Linked DNA regions of Homo sapiens: regions 2 and 3 are each linked to region 1. The links are contacts of gene promoters, found by promoter capture Hi-C in blood cells and fetal thymus (Javierre and others, 2016). All regions are on one chromosome and are shown on one strand. Each heading gives the region's core, a stretch centred on a gene start or on the middle of the fragment in contact. The rest is flanking DNA. Distances are from core to core; before and after follow the strand shown. Region 1 holds the start of DEFB116 (defensin beta 116). Region 2 has its middle 4.8 kb from the start of HM13. Region 3 has its middle 5.2 kb from the start of LINC00028.

What was found. The method cuts DNA at HindIII sites, captures the fragments that hold promoters and counts their contacts. A CHiCAGO score of 5 or more calls a contact.
Region 2: a contact is called between a fragment that was not itself captured here and the fragment with the promoter of DEFB116 in region 1, in 1 of 17 cell types (erythroblasts). The highest score is 5.2, in erythroblasts.
Region 3: a contact is called between a fragment that was not itself captured here and the fragment with the promoter of DEFB116 in region 1, in 1 of 17 cell types (M2 macrophages). The highest score is 5.5, in M2 macrophages.

The regions. Positions count from the first base shown.
Region 1 is chr20:31,307,326-31,309,838 of GRCh38, reverse strand. DEFB116 (defensin beta 116) reads left to right here and starts at 1,254. Exons shown (of 2, transcript NM_001037731.1): 1 at 1,254-1,320. The coding sequence starts at 1,254. The HindIII fragment of the contact is 2,687 bases long and covers 1-2,099 here.
Region 2 is chr20:31,508,401-31,510,913 of GRCh38, reverse strand. It overlaps the pseudogene CD24P3. Among named protein-coding and RNA genes, the nearest start is that of HM13, 4.8 kb to the left of the region's middle. The HindIII fragment of the contact is 2,650 bases long and covers 1-2,513 here.
Region 3 is chr20:31,489,705-31,492,217 of GRCh38, reverse strand. No RefSeq gene overlaps it. Among named protein-coding and RNA genes, the nearest start is that of LINC00028, 5.2 kb to the right of the region's middle. The HindIII fragment of the contact is 4,898 bases long and covers 1-2,513 here.

The DNA of each region.
Region 1 (2,513 bases), core at 5-2,504:
AGGAAGAAAGGAACAAAGGATGTATAAAATAACCAGAAAAGAATGAACAAAATGGCAAAAGTAAATCCTTACCTATCAATACTTACTTTGAATGTAAATGGATTCAGTTTGCCAATTGAAGGAGTGGCTGAATTGATTTTTTTAAATGACTCAACTGTATTTTGCTTACAAGAGACTCATTTCAGTTTTAAGGAAACACATAGGCTGAAAGTTAAGTGATGGAAAAAGATGTTCCATGGAAAAAGAAACCAGAAAAGAGCAGGAACAGCTTTTCTTACAACAGAAAAAATAGACTTTAGGTAAAAAACCACAAAGTGAGACAAAGAAGGTCATTATATAATAATAAAGGGATCAATTAATTGAGAGATCAGCATGTCCATCACCTCAAATATTTATTATTTATTTGTGATGAGGTCATTTAAAAATCTTTCTTTTAGCTCTTTACATTATTATTAACTATAGATACTGGAGTACTATTCAGCCTTTAAAAAACAGAAAATTCTGTTATTTGCAATCATATGAATGAACCTAGAAGACACTATGTGAAGTGAAATAAAGCAGGCACAGAGAGACACATACCATATGATCTCACTTAGATGTGGAATCTAAAAAAATTGAACTCATAGACGTAGAGATTAGCATGGTTGTTACCAGAGCCTCGAGGGAGGGTGGATGGGGAAAGGGGAGACATTGGTCAATGGGTACAAACTTTCGGTTAGATAGGAGGAATAAGTTCTGGTGTTCTGTGGGCACAGCATGGTGACTACAGTTAAAAATAATTATTTATTTCTTTTTTTACAATTATACTTTAAGTGCTGGGGTACATGTGCAGAACGTGCAGGTTTGTTACATAGGTATACACGTGCCTCACATAGGTATACACGTGCTTATTTCTTATCTAATTGTTTATAAGTTTTTTCAAGTTTGCTTGCTTGCTTGGTTGATTCATTCATTCAAATTCGTTTCACACAAAATGCCAACTGGCTCTAATTTGTCTTTATTTCTTAATGGGAAGAAAGGCCCACACAGACATGAGCACTGCTGGCAAGTCTCCCACGCTTACACAGAGTATCCAGCTCAGATAAGTGATACATGTTGTCCTTCTTCCTGCCTGACATCAGGTATCTCCCATCCCTTTTAGTTCACTGCACAGAACCCTGACGCATTTCCAAAACTAATAAAGGCGGGCTACTGCTCTGCTACAGTGATCTCTGTTTGGTCACCTGCAACACAGCCCTTCATTCTGGTGGAACATGTCAGTCATGAAGCCCTGTTTAATGACCATTGCCATCCTTATGATCCTGGCTCAAAAGACTCCAGGTAACTCAGGCCTCTCTCAAAGGTTCTGGCGTCTTGCATGTGGTACTGGTATCTTGGTGACCTCTGCAGTGACTCCTACTCACATATAGTGGGCAACACCTAAAGCCTTTTCTGGTCTCAGGTGGGTCACAGATGTTATTCCCAAGGTTAATTTCATGTAAAGATCTCCCCTGGTTCTGCTCTGCCAAGACAAATTGAAGAGGTTGTTGATCCTGGCATAGTGGACAGTCTAAGCATGGAACATTTTAGGTAGTGCTGTCATTGGGATGGGGGCTTAATTCATGAGTTAGGTGTGAGAGACTGTGTGCAAGTTGAGGAGCTATAGGAGGGGTATAGCAGTTTGGAGTTGGGTAGGGAGTTGAGGTGGGGAGGTTGTAAGACCTTAGAGATAGGGTAATATCCAAAAAGTGAGTGGGGATGAGCATGGGGTGAATAATTGTATTTATAGGTTGGGCTGAATAGATGTTTTGGTGCATTCTAGAGAGGAAATGGTATTTTTTCTTGAATGGAGCTGGGGTAGAGTTGGTGCAACTGGGAGTTGGGGTATAGAGAGGTTTGTAGCTGGGTTGTGTTTTAGATTGATGCTGTGAATGGGGTTGGGTGGCTTGGATAGTGTTATGTTTGTATGTTTTGCAGTTGGGCTTTTGGTGGTTATTAGAAGAGGTAGGGCTTGAGTTGTAGTTAGTGTTTGCCTAAAGTGGGTATCTTATTCAGTCATGGGTATGTGAGGTTTATCTGGGCAGGGATTGACTTAGCCTGGGTTTGGGGGTGATTAAGCTTGAGTAAGACAGTTGAATTCATCACAGCAGGGTTGTGGCTATTGAAATAAGGAGAATATTGACTCCTTCTCAGATATATGATTTGCAAATATTTTCTCCCATTCCATAGGTTGTTTCTTCATTTTGTAGACTGTTTCCTTTGCTGTGCAGAAACTTTCTAGATTGCTGCAATCCCCTTGTTTATTTTTGCTTTTGTTGCCTGTGCTTTGGTGTCATATCCAGAAAATCCTTCCCAAGGCCAACGTCAAGAAGCTTTTTCTCTATGTTTTCTCCTAGGAGTTTTATAGTTTCAGGTCTTAGATTTAAGTCTTTAATCCATTTTGAATTTGTTTTTGTGTATGGTGTAAGATAAATATCCAATTTTATTATTTTGCATCTAGATACCTAGTTTTCCCAATACATTTATTGAAGAGA
Region 2 (2,513 bases), core at 4-2,503, 200 kb before region 1:
AGATAAAATCTATATTTATTTTCAAGGTAGAGTTTTAAGTGGCCATATTTCTTAAGCCGTATTCAAAGGAAAATTTTATTTCAAGGCACATTTTCACTCTGTCACCCAGGCTGGAACACAATGGCATGATCACAGCTCACTGCAGCCTTGACCTCCTGGGCTCAAGCGACCCTCCCACTTCAGCCTCCCGAGTAGCTGGGACTATAGGCATATACCACCATGCCCAGCTAATTTTTCCATTTTTTATAGAGATGGGGTTTCACCATGTTGCCCAGGCTGGTCTTGAATTCCTGGGCTCAAGCGATCTGCTCACCTTGGCCTCCCAAAGTGCTGGGATTACAGGCATGACTACCATGCCTGGCCACTCAAGGAAATTGTGTCTTAACTAAGTTTGAATGCTGTTCCTCTTCATTTTGTATATGAAACTTCAGCTGATTTAATATTGACATTCATCATCTAGTCAAACCCTTCACATGTTCTTCAAACCAACCAAATTTGGGGTTCTTGACATTTTCTGTGTCAATAAAATTAGATGTGGATCTTATCTTTTTTTTTGAGATGGCGTTTTGTTCTGTCACCCAGGCTGGAGTGCAGTAGTGTGATCTTGGCTCACTGCAACCTCTGTGTCCCGGGCTCAAGCAATTTTCCTGCCTCAGCCTCCTGAGTAGCTGGGACAACAGGCACCCGCCATCACGCCCGGCTAATTTTTGTGTTTTTAGTAGAGATGGGGTTTCACCATGTTGGTCAGGCTGGTCTCAAACTCCTGACCTCGTGATCTGCCCGTCTCGGCCTTCCAAAGTGCTGGGATTACAGGCGTGAGCCACCACGCCCAACCAAGATGTGGATCTTATATTTTATTTTGAGATGGAGTCTCGTTCTTTCGCCCAGGCTGGAGTGCAGTGGCATGATCTCAGCTCACTGCAAGTTCCGCCTCCCGGGTTCATGCCATTCTCCTGCCTCAGCCTCCCAAGTAGCTGGGACTACAGGCACCCGCCACCGTGCCCGGCTAATTTTTTTTTTTTTTTGTATTTTTAGTAGAGACGGGGTTTCACCGTGTTAGCCAGGATGGTCTTGATCTCCTGACCTCATGATCCACCCGCCTCGGCCTCCCAAAGTGCTGGGATTACAGGTGTGAGCCACCACGCCTGGCCTGTATCTTATTTTATCTAGATCTACTAGATTTGATGAAGACTTGTTTTTTCCTTGCCATACTGGCCTTCTAGATGACCTTTGAATTGAATTTAGAAGATGGGAAAGTGTAGACCTGTCTTGGCCTGAGTCTTTTTTTTGAGATAGTTTCACTTTTTTTTTTTTTTTTTTTTGTTTTGAGATGGAGTCTAGCTCTGTTGCCAGGCTGGAGTGCAGTGGCACAATCTCGGCTCACTGCAACCTCCGACTCCCTGGTTCAAGTGATTCTCCTGCCTCAGCCTCCCCAGTAGCTGGGAATACAGGCATGCGCCACCATGCCTGGCTAGTTTTGTATTTTTAGTAGAGACAGGGTTTCTCCATGTTGTTGAGGCTGGTCTTGAACTCCTGACCTCAGGGGATCCACCTGCCGCGGCCTCCCAGAGTGCTGGGATTACAGGCGTGAGCCACCATGCCTGGCCTGGCCTGAGTCTTTTAACAGCAGAGAAGAGGAAGAGAGTGAGACCCTGAGGAGTGAGGGGGGAGACTGGCTGTTGACTGCAGGACACTGTCAATGCCTTATTGGTGGCATTCGCTAGACTTGGGGGCAGCCGTTATTCTGGAAGAAGTTACTTAAAAGTTAGAGCAGTTGTTTGAGCTGTATAAATCTGCATCCGTAGGAGCAGTGCCAGAAGTTGCAGCCCCTGCTGGAGCCTGGCTACCATTGCTCTGCCCATGCCTGCTCCAACCGTGCTGGGTGCATCTCACTTGATGCTGATGCTGGGTGTGTAGAGAACTGCTGGCTCAGGGCAGCTGCAGACAAGGTTGATGCTGCATGACTTCTGAAGCGAGGTCAGAAGAGGCCAAACAAGAAGATAAAATATTTTAGAGGAAATTAAAGAAAAAGGAAATAAGGAAGAAGCCAAACAGCTTCCACCTTGTTCAGTGGAACAATTGCTCAAGGACCTCTGAGCCACTTTTAACAAGTCTGACTGCCCAGAGACTGCCATGTTGTAAGGAAGCCCAAGTCACATGGAGAAGCCATGTGTAGATGCTTCAGTCAGCAATGCCAGCTGAGTCCAGTCTTTTTGTTATCTCAGTCCAGGTGCCAGACATGTGAGTGAAGAGTCCTCCAGATGATCCCAGTCCCCAGCTGCTTGAGTCACACTAAACCATCAAGTCTTCCCAGCTGGGGCTCCAGAGAGCATGGAGCAGAGTCAAGCCATGCCCACAAAGTCCTGTCAAAACTCCTGATCCCCAGAATCAGTAAGTTTGACAAAATAGTTCTTTTGGGAGTTCCTCTTTATGCAGCAATAGATAACCAGAACAACATGTCAGTTATGATTAGGTTTGGCTGGTTGCATGCAACAGAAAACCTCCAAATAACA
Region 3 (2,513 bases), core at 7-2,506, 180 kb before region 1:
ATTGAGACCATCCTGGCTAACACGGTGAAACCCCGTCTCTACTAAAAATACAAAAAAAAAAAAAAATAGCCGGGCGTGGTGGCGGGTGCCTGTAGTCCCAGCTGCTTGGGAGGCTGAGACAGGAGAATGGTGTGAACCCGGGAGGCAGAGCTTGCAGTGAGTCGAGATCACGCCACTGCACTACAGCCTGGGCAACAGAGTGAGACACAGTCTCAAAAAAAAAAAAAAAATAGCCGGGCACGGTGGCAGGTGTCTGTAATCTCAGCTACTCGGGAGGCTGAGGCAGGAGAATCTCTTGAATCCGGGGGGCAGAGGTTGCAGTGAGCCAAGATCGCGCCACTGTACTCCAGCCTGGGTGACAGAGTGAGACTCCATCTCAAAAAACAAACAAACAAAAAAACACAAAATGACAATCAGCAATAATTATTTAAGAATTAGGGCTGGGTGGCCAGGCGCGGTGGCTCATGCCTGTAATCCCAGCACTTTGGGAGGCCGAGGTGAGCAGATCACCTGAGGTCGGGAGTTCGAGACCAGCCTGATCAACATGGAGAAACCCCATCTCTAATAAAAATACAAAAAATTAGCTGGGTGTGGTGGTGCATGCTTGTAGTTCCAGCTACTCGGGAGGCTGAGGTAGGAAAATCGCTTGAACCTGGGAGGTGGAGGTTGCTGTAAGCTGAGATCGCACCATTGCACTCCAGCCTGGGCAACAAGAGCGAATCTCCATCTCAAAAAAAAAAAATAAAAAAGAATTAGGGCTGGGTGAAGTGGCTCACACTTGTAATCCCAGCACTTTGGGAAGCCAAGACGGGAGGATCATTTGAGTCCAGGAGTTTGAAGCCAGCCCGAGCAACATAGAGAGACCCTGACTGTACAAAAAAAGAAAAAAAAAATTAGCTATGCCTGGTGGTGCATGCCTGTGGCCCAGCTACTTGGAGGCTGAGGCAGGAGGATCCCCTGAGCCTGGGAGGTTGAGGCTGCAGTGAGCTGTGATCGCACCACTGCACTCTAGCCTGGGGCAATAGAGTGAGACCCTGCCTCAAAACAAAAGGATTGGGATACTTCACATAAAGATCTGGCTCTCTGCCTTTCTTAGAAAAACTGACATGCGGTATCTGGCAACACTGGGTTCATATTCCAACAGTAGTCACAGGCAGCTTAGTTCGTATCCTCCTTTTAGGCAAGGCAGCTGATTCCAGTTTGCCATAGACTTGATGCTGCCTAATGTCCTCTACCCAGTTGACTTCACTGACTTATATTATTGGTCTGACTCTGTGAGCATTTGAGTTAGTGAATCCTGGTTTCAGTTTTGGAATTAATGTGTGTGCATGTGTATGTGTGTATGTAAGACTCAAAAATTGCTTTCCAGACAATCTTTTTTTTTTTGGAAACATTGTCTTGCTCTGTTGCTCAGGCTGGAGTGCAGTGGTGCAATCTTGGCTTATTGCAACCTCCGCTTCCTTGGTTCAAGGGATTCTCCTGCCTCAGCCTCCCAAGTAGCTAGGATTACAGGCCCGCACCACCGTGTCTCGCTATTTTTTTTTTTTTTTGTATTTTTAGTAGAGACAGGATTTCACCATGTTGGCCAGGCAGGTCTTGAACTCCTGACCTGAGGTGATCTGCCCACTTTGGCCTCCCAAAGTTTCATTCCAGACAATTCTGTGAAAAGGCATCTATCCTCATTCACAGAGTTGGGTAGACCCTGAAGTGGACTGGATTTGGAATGGTCACACTCACTCTGGACTGTTTTGTAAGACTGGAAAAGCTAAGAGCATGCACCCTTGACTGCCTGACTAGAGCACTTGGGGTGTTAACCCAGCTCTAGCTTTTCTTCTTGGTGTGGTCATGTTGTACTTTATGCAAACCCTGATTAACCTAAGCCACTGATTAGTTTGAAGGTGGCCATGTAACCAGATTCTGGCCAGTGAGAACTGGAAGAGTTTCCTTGCTGATGAAAGGGACATGCTGAGGAAGAGACAACCTTTTTGCTTTGCCTGGACCTTGTCATGTCCACGTTTCATGCCTGAAACTGGGGTGGCCATATTGGGACCCTAAGGGTAGCTATCCCAGGGCAAGCTGAGACCCAGAAGATGGCAGAGTGGAAAGATGGAAAGAGGAACTCTCATATTTGTGCTCAAAGAGGCACATGCAATGTTCATAGTGCATTATTTATAGCAGAAAAAAAGCCCATCAAGAGGAAGAAAAGATAAATAAATCTTATATGTTCATACAGTGGAATACTGTGCAGTGATGAAAAAGAATAGTTACAGATTTCAACACAAGGAATCTCATAAATATAATGTTGAATGTGAAAAATAATAAAGCTGAAGGATACATATAGTATGATGTTTAAAAGCATCCAATACTTTGCCTTAGCAAAATATATCTGTGGGAAAAAGTATAAAGTAATGCATGGAAATGCATTACAATTTATTGAGTGCTTACTGAGTGCAAAGCATCATGCTAACAAATAGCCAACCTGATTGAATTCTCACATCGACCCTTAGTGAGAA